2 separate regions of the Homo sapiens genome follow, and region 1 is linked to region 2. The links are contacts of gene promoters, found by promoter capture Hi-C in blood cells and fetal thymus (Javierre and others, 2016). All regions are on one chromosome and are shown on one strand. Each heading gives the region's core, a stretch centred on a gene start or on the middle of the fragment in contact. The rest is flanking DNA. Distances are from core to core; before and after follow the strand shown.

Region 1 (6,822 bases), core at 1,228-3,727, 1.5 Mb after region 2:
TTCCACCGGTGTTTGGGTGAAAAAACGTCCGCCTCTCAATGGACCTGCAGTTCAAACCCCTGTTGTTCAAGGGTCAGCTGTATTCCCAGTACACATCCAATCTAACTAAAAACATTGAACCTTCCATGCAGACCTGACTGTAGGTCCGACCGCCTCTCTCCTAGCCAATTCCCAGAAATTCTGCAGCCACTTTGCCCCACCTCCTTGTCCTGAGGACCTACTGTTTGGAAGGAAAAATTAAGACAAAGGTATGAGCAGGACGGTCTGGGTAAGGTTTAGAGATAAGGGGTGTGGATTGGGGCGGGGCTAAGGAGCGAGGGGTGGGGCTGAGATTGCGGGGCAGTTAGGCTGGGACCTGGGGCGGGGGCTTAGAAGAGGGTTAGAGTTGGGTGGGGCTTAAAGAGGTTTAGGGGTTGGTCCGCAGAAAGTGAGAGCGGTTTAAAGAGGATGGATAGAGTTGATCTAATAGAGAGTAGGGGCTTGGAGCTGGGGAAGAACAGGAGGAACTGCGTGAGAGTGGGGCAAGGAGGACGGATAATTTTTTTTTTGAGACAGGGTCTCGCTCTGTCATCCAGGCTGGAGTGCAGTGGCCCTATCACCGCTCACTGCAGCCTCGACCTGCCAGGCTCAAGCGACCCTCCTGCTTCAGCCTCCGGAGTAGCTGAGACTACAGACGGGCGCCAGCATATTTAGCTAATTTTTTTTTTTTGAGACGGAGTCTTGCTGTCGTCCAGGCTGGAGTGCAGTGGGGCAATCTGGCTCACTGCAACCTCTGCCTCCCGGGTTCAAGCAGTTCTCTCCCTCAGCCTCCCGAGTAGCTGGAATTACAGGCGCCCGCCACCACGCCTGGCTAATTTTTGTAATTTTAGTAGAGACGGGGTTTCACCATCTTGGCCAGGCTGGTCTTGACCTCCTGACCTCGTGATCCACCCGCCTCGGCCTCCCAAAGTGCTGGGATTACAGGCGTGAGCCACCGCGTCCAGCCTAATTTTTGTATTTTTTTTTTTTGTAGAGACGGGGTTTTGCCATATTGCCCAGGCTGGTCTTGAACTCCTGTGCTCAAGCAATCCGCCTGCCTTGGCCTCCCAAAGTGCTGGGATTACAGGCGTGAGCCACCACGCCAGGCCAAGAGAACGGATTTTAAGGTGAGGGGCGGAGCTTATAATAATTCAGCTCTGAGGTGGGCGTGGTTCAGGGCCGAGGGCCGGGGGCCGGGGCTTAAAGGAGAAACTCTGAGGGAACAGGGTATTGGAGGTGGGACTTAGAAGGTGCTGATGGGGGCGCACGACTGCTATGGAGGCGATGGGGAGAGAAGGAAGTACTTAATCTAAGGGAAGTTCCTGGGAGAGTGGAAGCTTAGCAGGAGGGGCTGAATGGGTCTGGGTTTGGCTGTTTGGGATGGGGCTGAGTTGGGAGCCGGGATTATAGCGATTATATGAGCGGGCAGTGTCAAGTGTGGTAAATCCATGGCTCTTGACCAGCATGCAGCAGAATCAGAGTATTTCAAAACACGGATCCCTAGACCCCCAACCCCAGGGCTTCTATTCCGCATGGTCTGAGCAGGCAGCCGGATGCTGCTGGCCTCCCAACTATCCTTGACAACCACCGATTTAAAAGAATGCTTTAGAGGTGGGAGGCACTCAAAAGTCACGAGGTGCAACTTAAATGCTATGGGGTGAAGGGGCGGGGCTTGGATGGAGGGGGCGGGGCCTAGGGAGGGGTGAAGTTCCAGAGAGTGGGAGCTTGGAGAGGGGGAAGAACAGGAGAAACTGCATGAGGGCGAGGGGACGAAGACAGACTTTGAGGCAGTAGGGGGCTTATAATCACGCTGTGAGATGGGCGTGGTTCAGGGCCAGGGGGCGGGGCTTCAGTGTGAGACCCGAGCCGGAGGTGTGGCTTAACCGGACGCCCAGAGCGTGTCGCGGGGTTCCCGTAGAAGAGGCGGGCATTCAAAGCGCAGGCGCACCTGGCTCAGTTCGCCCACCGGAATCGGCCCGGGCTTTCACTGCTCGCGTCCCCGAGTCAGTGCGCAAGCGCATTTCCCCCCTCCTGGTCCCCGCCACCGCCTCCTCTTTCCGATCCTCCACGCCGGCGCCTCGGGAACGGGCGCGACTTCCGCTTCCGGGCGGGCGGGCAGGCGGGCGGTGCGGGGCTGCCGGGGAGGGGGGAGGGGGCGGCACTTCCGGTCGGGCCCTCGGGTCTCCCCGGAGCGGCGGCGCCTCCTCCGCCTCCTCGGCCTCCTCCCGGCGGAGACCCCGGCGCCGGTGAGTGACGGGGTGCGTGGCCCGGGGGCCCGGGTGCAGCGGGGGCGGGGGGCCCCGCCCTGGCCCGCTGTGGTCCCCAGAACGTCCCCCAACCCCTAGCAAGTCAGTGCAGCTCCCGCCGGGCCCTTGCCAAGGGACCCCCAATCACTGCTCCCCGGTAGGATCACTGCAGATAGCTCCCCCATGAACGCCCCCAGCTAGGATGGCTGCCAAAGCGCTTTCATTCGTGGCGATCCCCTAAACGGCTGCCAGGGCCCCCAAATGATACCTCCTCGTAGGATCCCCTCCACATAGCGCTCCCCGTCATTGCTTCCTCCAGGTCAGCCTCCAGATGCCATCAGCATTGCCCCTCCCCATGTAGGGCAGCTGCTCGTGAACCCTCTTATTAGTATCCTCTATATAATTCTCCCCAGAGTGTTTCCTTAGTGCCTTGCAGCAGAACTGTCCCCCGTTATCTCTGTCCATACAGCAACAGCCCCCAATGGCCCTGACCACCTCCCTCCCCAGCAGAACGCCCCTTCGTGGGTGTGAAAATACTTTCTATTCTGGTCAGCACCAAGAATGCCTTTTTCCCTTCTGCAGGTCCTCCAGTGATTCCCCTTAAGAATGCCCCTTTCAAAGCCACCCCCCCATCGCAGCGGCACAGCTCCCTCTAGAGTTCCTTCACACTCACATCCTCTCCCGCCTCAGGTAGAAATATCCGCCTGCTTAGCTCCAGGCTCCCATGACATACTCCCGTACCTCCTCTCACCCCACCCTCATCGCGGTCAGCCCGTCTTCATTACTTCTGCCACAGAACAGTGTCCCGCAGTGAGGCGGTGAAGCCTTCCTTCCCAGAATGTGCCTCATCCTCTTCCTATGGCGTGAACAACTGTTGCCCTGACCTGCAGCTTCTCACCCAGCTCTCAGGCTATCGTCCTGGACTCCCTAGGGAAGACCCTGGACTTCACTAGGGTGTGACTTCTTTTCTCGTAGGCATTCCTTCTGCGTTGAACGCATATTCACTATTCTAGCTGAAGGGTATAATATACAGCCACGAAGGGGGTCGATACACACAGTGTTCTCACTGTGCGGGGTCTCACAGTCTAGTTGATCAGACACGAGTCGACAAAGATACACGGGGTTTTGTGGGTTCTCTGAGAGCCTGATGAACTACTTTAGAGGTGAAAGCTGAATTACAAGTGGCAGCTTAGCCATGCAAAGATCTGGGTGAGCAGGCAGCAAGAACAACAAGTGCAAAGGCCCTGAAGTGGCGGTGAGCACGGTGAGTGGAGGAGCAGCAGGGGAGGCCGGTGAGGGTGGAGTGGAAGATTTGAAGGCAAGAACAAGAGGAAGGAAGCTTTGGTCTCAAAAGGCTTTGGAGGTGAGGGCACTGGGATAAATTATCTAGCCTTTGTCAGCTCTACCGAGCCCAGAATGTTCTTCATTCATTCATACGTTCATTCGTAAACACTGGTTGAACAACTGTTTAATGAGCACCTACTTTACATTGGGGGTACAACAGAGAACAAAATAGACAAGAATCCCTGTCCTCATGGAGTGGATATGCTAGTTGAGGGGGCAGATGATTAAAAGACAAAATACAGGCCAGGCGAGGTGGCTCATGCCTGTAATCCCAGCAGTTGGGAAGGCCAAAGTGGGAGGATCGCTGGAGGCCAGGAGTTCAAGACCAACCTCGGCAACATAGTGAGACCCTGTCTTTACAGGAAAAAAAAAAAAAAAAAAAAAAAGCTGGGTGTGGTTGGTGGGCACCTGTAGTCCCCAGCTATTCAGGAGGCTGAGGTGGGAGGGCTGCTTGAGCCCAGGAGTTCGAGGCTGCAGTGAAAAAAAATAAAAACAAAAACCAAGAGTATATGTGCGTGTTCAGAATATCACGGGATAAAGAGATAGACCTGGGGGGCTGTGGTTCAGGATGGCCTCCCCCAGGATTTTCCTATGTCTTGTCATCTTGTCCCTCCCAAAAGCCACACACCAAAAAGTTATACAAGAGTAAAAATTCCCCTTCTCCTGGACAACTGTGGCCCACTTGGGGGCTGCTCTTAACAGCGCCCTAACCCCAGGAGCGAAGTGATTGGGAGGATGAGCCCTGGATTCCACTAGGGTTCACAGCTTTGAGCAAATCACTCCCTCCTTTCCTAGCCTCATTCATTCACTTCTTCAAACAAAAATGTATCAAGCCAGGAACTGTTGTAGGTCCTGGGGATGGAACAGTGAGCAAGAGATAAAAATCCTTGCCTTCAGGAAGCCGATCATCTGGATGGGGAGACCAACAAAATCAAGGCAAAGAAGTAGATTATGTGAGGTTATAAATGATGCTGAGCAGTAAGGAGAGAAATGAAGCAGGGTTAGGGAGATGAGGATGTGGGCCTGGGTGACAGGTCATTGGTTACTGAGAGGCTCATTGAGAAGACAGTTGACCAAAGATGGGGAGGAGGTGAAGGGGTGAGCGAGATGGTTGCCTGAGAGTCAGAATATTACAGGCAACAGCAACAGCCAGCGCAAAGGCCCTGCAGCAGGAATAGAGTGGGCACATGGGAAGAGCAGCCAGGAGACTGTGGAGGTCATTGTAAGGACTGTGGCTTTTTTTTTTTTTTTTTTTGAAAAGGAGTTTCGCTCTTGTTGCCCAGGCTGGAGTGCAGTGGTGTGATCTTAGCTCGCTGCAACCTCCGCCTCCCGGGTTCAAGTGATTCTCCTGCCTCAGCCTCCCGAGTAGCTGGGATTACAGGCATGTGCCACCACGCCCAGCTAATTTTGTATTTTTAGTAGAGATGGGGTTTCTCCATGTTGGTCAGGCTGGTCTCAAACTCCCGACCTCAGGTGATCCGCCTGCCTTGGCCTCCAAAAATGCTGGGATTACAGGCGTGAGCCACCGTGCCCAGTCAGGACTGTGGCTTTTGAATGAGATGGGGTTACTGTTTGGTTTGGGACCGAGGATAGACATGCTTTGGTTATAGTCCTCCTGTCAGTAAAATGGGAATAATAATAACACATTTGTTGTGAAGTTTGAATGAAACAAGCCACATAAGGCACCTAAGTACAATGCTTGTTAGAGGTCAACAAATGTTGGTGACTTGTTCTGGTCTTGGGTCAAGCCAAGAGACTTGGGATTTGTTGGCAGGGAGATGGGTGGAGCAATGCATGTTTCCAGTATGAAGTGGGATTGGGGGCGGGGGTCCTCCTTCATTTTGGAGGGAGAAATACCGAAAGACAGCATGTGATGGGACTCTGGAGCCTTGCTGCCTTTCTTCAACCACTGGCCCTGCCACTAGTTAACAATGTGACTTTAGAAGTTTGTTTGTTTGTTTTTGAGAAACAGAGTCTCACTCTGTCACCCAGGCTGGAGTGCAGTGGCGTGAGCTCACTGCAACCTCTGTGTCCTGGGTTCAAGCAATTATCCTGCCTCAGCTTCCCCACTAGCTGGAACTACAGGTGTGCACCACCACACCCGGCTAATTTTTTTATTTTTAGTAGAGACGGGGTTTCACTATATATTGGCCAGGCTAGTCTCGAACTCCTGACTATAGTTGATCCACCCACCTCGGCCTCCCAAAGTGCTGGCATTACAGGCATGAGCCACCATGCCTGGCCTGACTTTGGAAGTTTAATTTATCTCTCTGGCCCTCAGTCTCTTCCTTTGTATTTCAGAGTCAATGCTTGTAACCATCTTCTAGGGTTACTGGGAGGATTCGTTGAGCTCACACACATCAGAGTTACAAGAGTGCTGGGCTGGTAGAAAGCACACATCCAGTGTTATATGCGCACGTTACTCTTTATTAACAAACCAGAATTTCATCACAAGGCAGCGTTGTTGCAGCAGAACGGCCCACAGTCTGGCATCAGAAAGACCTGGAATCAGTTACCTGCTTTCCTCTTTATTGGCCACATGACCTTGGAGGAATGCCTTCCCCATGCTGCTCCTCAGTTTCCCCACTTATAAGATGGGCCCAGTCATGGTACAGGACTGTGCTGCCTCCAGGCAATAACAAATATCAAACTGGTCAAACAATAAATGTGAACCGTTAATACACTTGCTGTGGGACTCCTGTCCCTTGGTGGTGGTGGTGGAGGGGTGGGTCCCTCCCCATCATGCTTCTCTCTGCATAAAACCCTCCTATGACATCCCCTCTTAAAAAGATACCAGTTTAGGCTTGAGTTGTATGAAAGAGGGAATGTTTCTGGTTTCCTAGTGGAGATTATCATAAGCCTGATCAATTCTGTCCACCACTGATGTATCCCCTTCAGCATCTCCACACCCTGCCCTCAGTGCCCTCCTCATAACATCACTGTCCCCAGAATTGCTTCTCCCAGGAATTCCTGGGATCATTTAGCTCCATTTCTGCTACATGTCCCCCTCCGTTCCTCTGGGAGTTTGATCAGCTTAGTCTCATCGCTTTGTTCATTCCACAAATACCAAGATAGACATTCACAGCTGTGCATTTCCCTCTGAGCATTGCTTTGGCTGCACCTCCTCAGCTTTGGTATGTTGTGTTTTCATTTTCATTAATTGCTAAGCAGTTTTTTTGCTTTTTGTTTGTTTGTGTTTTTGAGATGGAGTCGC
Region 2 (6,653 bases), core at 3,860-6,359:
AGCCGCTGTGTCTGGCCTCTTATTATTATTATTATTTTTTTTTTTGAGACAGAATCTCACTCTGTTGCCCAGGCTGGAGTGCAGTGGGATGATCCTGGCTCATGGCAACCTCCACCTCCCGGGTCCAGGTGATTCTCCTGCCTCAGTCTCCTGAGTAGCTGGGATTACAGGCGCCCATGGGTTTTGTTTGTTTGTTTGTTTGTTTGTTTGTTTGTTTTTCAGACGGAGTCTTGCTCTGTCACCCAGGCTGGAGTGCAATGACATGGTCTTGGCTCACTGCAAACTCCGCCTCCCAGGTTGAAGTGATTCTCCTGCCTCAGCCTCCCGAATAGCTGGGATTACAGGCGCCCGCCACCACGCCTGGCTAATTTTGTATTTTTAGCAGAGACGGGGTTTCACCATTTGGGCCAGGCTGGTCTTGAATTGCTGACCTTGTGATCTGCCCGCCTCGGCCTCCCAAAGTGCTGGGATTACGGGTGTGACCCACCGCGCCCGGCCGAGATGGGGTTTTACCATGTTGGCCAGGCTGGTCTCGAACTCCTGACCTCAACTAATCCGCCTGCCTCGTCTCCCAAAGTGCTGGGATTACCCTGTGCCTGGCCCAGCCTCTTATTTATAACCAGTGTTGAGGGACTGTGTGGAGCCGGGCACAGGCGAAGCAGGCAGGCTTCCTGCCCTGGTAGGACCTGGTTGCTATAAAAGTCCTGCCAGGTGAGCAGAAGGAGCACACTTCCCCTCCCCTGACCTCCAGTCACTGAGTCTCGGGAACCGGGGCTCGGCCAGGAGCGCCTTTACTTGGACTGAGGGGAATGTGGCCTGCAGACAGTCAGGAGAGTTTCCAGGGGACAGCAGGGGCTGTCCTAGCGGGTGGCATGAAACCGTCTCCCTGGAGAGGTTAAGGAAGAGCAACTCCAGGGGTTCCATTTACTATGTGCTCCGGAGCTGGGCTACACGGTGGTACTAAGGAGGCAGCGCTAGTCACCTGACCTACAAGGTCGGGCTTCTGTTAGTTACCTAAGAGATGTTACCAGGACAAGCAGCAGCCTGGTGGGAAGATGATGCCTCCAGGTCTCTACCTCCTCTCTCTCTCCCTCCTTCTCTCCACCTCCCCTCTCTCTCCCTCCCTCTCTCCACCTCCCCTCTCTCTCTTCCTCCCTCTCCACCTCCCCTCTCTCTCTCCCTCCCTCTCTCCACCTCCCCTCTCTCTCTCCCTCCCTCTCCACCTCCCCTCTCTCCACCTCCCCTCACTCCACCTTCCCTCTCTCCACCTCCCCTCCCTCTCTCCACCTTCCCCTCTCTCCCTCCCTCCCTCTCTCCACCTTCCCTCTCTCCTCCCCTCTCCCCCTCCCTCCCTCTCTCCACCTTCCCTCTCTCCACCTCCCCTCTCCCCCTCCCTCCCTCTCTCCACCTCCCCTCTCCCTCCCTCTCTCTCCTCCCCTCTCCCTCCCTCCACCTCCCCTCCCTCTCTCCACCTCCCCTCCCTCTCTCCCTCCCTCCCTCCCTCTCTCCACCTTCCCTCTCCCTCCCTCCACCTTCCCTCTCCCTCCCTCCACCTTCCCTCTCCCTCCCTCTCCACCTTCCCTCTCTCCTCCCCTCTCCCTCCCTCTCTCCACCTCCCCTCTCTCCCTCCCTCCCTCCCTCTCTCCACCTTCCCTCTCTCCCTCCCTCTCTCCACCTTCCCTCTCTCTCTCTCCCTCCCTCTCTCCAGCTCATGCTATCTGGGTCTCCCTCTGACTTTCTAGGTCCTGTCTGAGATTTTGCTCTTTCTGTTCCCCTCTCTGGGCCTCCCCGTCACCACTCTGTGTATCTCTGGATCCCTGTCCTTCAACCCAGAGCTCTGTCTCTGGACCTCAGTGGCAATCTCTAAATCTCTCTCCTTCCTCAAGTCAAAAAGTCGACACACTCAGGAGGTTCCCTTGAGTGGCTGAACTACCCCAGGTTGTATAACTCAAGTCTGTTTTCTCAATGTTATCCCTGACCCTCTGGGTCAACCCTGTTTGAAAATGACAACCTTTGCTGATCTCTACATACTGGTCTGCCAGGGAAGGACCCGTGGTCCACAACCCTGTTCAGAATCCCCCATCTCCCTTGGCCAAAATATCCGGCATCTACCAATGGGGCTGTGGCATGAGGGTGTCAATCTCAGGAAAGGAATCTTGAGTCGCCTGGGCCTGCAGCCCTCGTACTTTCAGAACAGAGGTTCTCAGAATTTAATGCGCTTCAGAATTACACTGAGGACTTGTTAAAACATAGTTGCTGGGCCCAGAGTTTCTGATTCAGTCTAGGGTGGGGCTCAAAAATGTGCCTTTCAAACAAGTTCCCAGGTGATGGGTACGTGCCTGACCCAAGGCCACATTTCAGAAGCACTGCTCTAGAAAAGAAGACTCTGTAAGCGGCTCTTACGCTGGGCGCGGTGGCTCACGCCTGTAATCCCAGCTACTTGGGAGGCTGAGGTGGGAGAATGGCTTGAACCTGGGAGGCAGAGGTTGCAGTGAGCCGAGATGGCGCCCCTGCACTCCAGCCTGGGTGAGAGAGACACTGGCTCCCACCTCAAGATCGTTTTAGTTGGTCCAGTGTAAGCCTGGGTATCTGGACTTTTTTATTTTTTATTTTTATTTTTTGAGACGGCGTCTTGCTCTGTCACCCAGGCTGGAGTGCAATGGCGCAATCTCGGGTCACTGCAACCTCTGCCTCCCAGGTTCAAGTGATTCTCCCGCCTCAGCCTCCCGAGTAGCTGGGATTACAGGCACATGCCACCATGCCCAGCTAATTTTTGTATTTTTAGTAGAGACGGGGTTTCACCATGTTGGCCAGGCTGGTTTTGAACTCCCTACCTCAGGTGATCCGCCCACCTCGGCCTCTGAGAGTGCTGGGATTACAGGTGCAATGGCGCAATCTAGGCTCACTGCAGCCTCTGCCTCCCGGGTTCAAGTGATTCTCCCGGCCCGGCCTGGCCTCTAATTTAAAAAAAATTTTTTTTTTTTAAAGTTCCTCAGGTAGGCCAGGCGCAGTGGCTCACGCCTGTAATCCCAGCACTTTGGGAGACTGAGGCGAGCGGATCACCTGAGGTCAGGAGTTCGACACCAGCCTGGCCAACATGGTGAAACCCCGTCTCTACTAAAAATACAAAAATTAGTCGGGCGTGGTGGCGGGCGCCTGTAATCCCAGCTACTCGGGAGGCTGAGGCGGGAGAATCACTTGAACCCCGGGAGGCAGAGGCTGCAGTGAGCCTAGATTGTGCCACTGCTCTCCAGCCTGGGGGACAAGAGCAAGTCTTCGTCTCAACAACAACAACAATAACAACAAGTTCCTCAGGTGACTCTGATGTGCAGCCAAGTTGGAAAGTCATCGCTAGATCCGCGGTGTGCAAAGTGAACTGCGGACCGTGGACTGCGGCACTTGTTAGAAAAGCAGAATTTGCATTTTAACACATTCCTAGGTGATTCCGGAGATGTCTGAGAAGCGATACTTTGTCCAGGGGCCACAGTTTGAATAGCAAAGCTCTAGAACAATAACTCTAGGCTTCATTCCCGTTGTCTGTGTGTGGGCCTACGAATATGCATTTTCGCAAGCATTCCTCCTCCCCCTTGCCTCAGACCATTCTGATGCGGGTGGTGCTGAACGGCTCCATCCTCCTTCACGTTCACCTCTCCCTGGGATTTATCTTACTTTCCACCACCTAGACAGGAAGGGGCGAATCTGGCTTCCCATCTCGGTTGTGTGACCCTGGGCAAATGCCTCCCAGTTCGTGGAAGTCTCAGTGTCTAGTTAAGTTTTCAATCACAAGTCATTCCTCACATTCATTCATCTATTCCTTTGACAAATGGTTACTGACTACTTCCTGCGTGCTAAGTGCTGGAGATGCAAAATCCAGACAGGGAAACCGAATAATTACGAAAATGACGGTAGACGTACAAAAATAAATCCTAACGAACAAGGCGCGCAGGAGCGCTCCGCCCGGGAGGGAGGTCAGGGAAGTTTTCTCTCCAAGAAGACAACAGAGCTGAGACCTGAAACGAGCAGGCATTAGGGAGCCACCCGTCTCCTCTGTACCTTCTGCAGCGTCCTCAACACACTAAGGAAGCGGAGACGCAGAGGAGAATGACTGTCCCACCATCTGGTCGCCTAACCAGGCAGGGGCAGGACAAAAACTCCATGCCTCACGCTTCCCAACCAATTCTGCTATGCACGGTGCCAGAGACTTAAAGCAGTGTCTCTGGTCCCTTTCTTCTTTCACTCAGCAAATAATGAATTTCAGAGATGTGCCAACATAGAGGCACTTGGAGAAAGACGAGGCAGCTGAGAGGGAAGCTGCTTACCTGGCCGGGACGCAACGGTTGCGACCAAGTCCCACTTCTGCCAGCTACATACACCCTCTTTCACACGCTCTACGAGCAGCTACCGCCCACTCGCCACGCTATTGGTCCAACTAGCATGAATGATAACTTTTAGGGCCAACGAAGAAAAAGGGGTGGACTTTCTTGCCCAGCTCCTCCCACTTGGCCCTGTGGCTGTTTTGATTGGCAGATGACTTCGGCTCGGCCCCCGCTTTAAAGGCACCTGTCTGTCTCCCATTAGGTACGCGGCCCCTAACGCCCACACTCCATGCCTTCCTCCGCTTTCCCCACCCACTTCCAGGACCAACCAATGACTTCAAGGCAGAATATGCCCCCGCAACCAATTAAAAAGAGCTCTAAACTTGACGGACGACTTCCCGCCCCTGGACTGTCGTAGCTCCTCCCCCAGACCAATTGTTTTAAGAGAGGGGGGCGGATACATCCAATCAGCACGACACAGGTCTCTTGATTGACGTTCGGGTCCTCGCGCTGGCGTGTTGTGCCCTGAGGCGGGAGGAGGAGGAGGAGCGGGGAGGAAAACCTGAGCCAATCCTAGCAGCCTGCGCGGGAGGCCAATCGAACGCCGCGCCTTGGAGCGATCACCCAATCCGCGAAAGGGGGCAGGGCGCATCCCTGCCAGGAACCAATAGAAAGCCTCCAAGGGTCAGGAGCGACGTTCAGCGGGAGCAATGACTGGCCTATATTCGGGACTCGGGGGCGGGTCGGCGCCAGAGACGAGAAGAGAGGAGGGGAGGCCTCCTCCGCCGCCGCCATCTTGGACCGGGCCCGGTCAGCTTCCGCGGAGCCATCGGCAGACGCCGCGGCCTCCCTTGAGCCCCGACCCCCGTCGTCAGAACAACCCCGGGCCCACTCCCCCAACCCCACTTCCGCTTCGCGCCGCTATCGCGATAGCGCCCGGGCCCGGGGCGCGAGAAAAAGGCGGCGGGCGCTCGCCTCCCCCGCCTGTCGCGATACGCTCCTCAGCGGCGGCGCCAGCTCCTGTGGTGAGAGCGTCAGGCTCGACTGGGCCGGACCCCTTCCCTTCCTCCCCCCGGCGCCATCGGCCGCCCTCCCCGCCGCCTCCCGCCCTGGCGACACCGCCGTCTGTCGCGACATGGCCTCCCCTCGCCTGCCCCCTGCCGCCGCCTCTGCAGCGCGGGGCTCCCGGCGGGGGGCGGCTCCCTCCCTCTCGCCCTCCCGTTCCTGCGCCTCTTTCACGTTCCTCAGCGCCTCCCGGGGGTCCTTCCGCGACCCGGACCCCGGGCCCCGCCCGCCGCCGCCTCCCCGCGTGGCATCGCGTCGGGCCCCCCGGTAGGGGTGTGAGGGTGCGAAGCCTCCCGGGCGCGAGGTGCCCGCCCCTCTCCGCGTCGGTATTGGCTCCTGGCTGGAAGGATGGAGGCGCCCCTGGTCCCAGGTGCCCGCCCTCTCGGGGCTCAGGTGCCTGCCCCCCTCGGCCTCGGTCCTTCGCGTTGTGGGGCAGCCTCCGCGCCGGGGCTTCTCCCTCGACGGTGGCGGGGAGGGGGGGTGGTGGTCGGGACGAGGACCCCAGCTGGGTGGGGGAGTCACCCTTCCCAGGACCGAGGCCGCCCTCCGCATCCCTCCTCACTGCTCCCGGGAGCGCAGCCTCCCCTGGATCTCAGGTTCCAGCTGCCCGTCTGTATCGGATGGGAGCCTCTTGGGAGAGGAGTGGAGGAGAAACTCCCCGTTAGTTGGAGCCTTTGCCGAAGTTTCCACCTCTGTAGTCTGCAGCTCTTCCCTCTCATAGCGAGTAGCGCCCTGGGTGGCTCCAGCCTCGCCATCCCGCTGCACTGGGCGCCTGCCTTTTTGGGGGAGTTTGGCTTTCCCCCACCTGGGGTACAGGACCGTCCTCAGTGTGGCCCACGTCTGGTCTCAGCTCTCACACTTCTTTGATCCTGGCGTCTGCCCCTGGCTTTGCAGCCTTGAACTCCCCTGCATCGTGACTCTCCGACCTTCTGGGTGTGGGCGTCTCCCAGTGATATCAGGACCACTGTGGTCTTGTTGCTGGGGGCTGCTGGGATCCCCTGGCGCTCAGGTGCCTGGTGAAAGACACTAAGCCGCCACGCTGTCCATGTTAGTGAGCTCCCACTGCGGGCAGCACCAGCCCCTCTTTCTGAGCAGTCCCTGCCTCTCAGTGCAGGGCGGCCACCCACCCCGGGGTGAGCTCTCCTGTCCTTTTGGTGAGGGGTTTTGATGTCTCCCCTCCCTCCCTTCACCCCTGCCTGAGTATGAGGCTTCTTCCATCTTCACACCAGTCTCCTCCTTTAGGGTGTCAGCTCTCCAAGGACCAAGAAGCCC

Evidence for each region. Contacts are between HindIII fragments. The CHiCAGO score rates a contact against its expected background, and 5 or more counts as called.
Region 1: a fragment that was not itself captured here is called in contact with the fragment with the promoter of CNOT3 in region 2 in 1 of 17 cell types (naive CD8 T cells); the score reaches 5.3 in naive CD8 T cells.

The regions. Positions count from the first base shown.
Region 1 is chr19:55,603,469-55,610,290 of GRCh38, forward strand. ZNF865 (zinc finger protein 865) reads left to right here and starts at 2,179. Exons shown (of 2, transcript NM_001195605.2): 1 at 2,179-2,264. RefSeq lists enhancers at 801-1,352, 1,353-1,904 and a silencer at 1,948-2,447. The HindIII fragment of the contact is 2,248 bases long and covers 1,354-3,601 here.
Region 2 is chr19:54,132,653-54,139,305 of GRCh38, forward strand. CNOT3 (CCR4-NOT transcription complex subunit 3) reads left to right here and starts at 5,110. Exons shown (of 18, transcript NM_014516.4): 1 at 5,110-5,341. The HindIII fragment of the contact is 20,819 bases long and covers 1-6,653 here.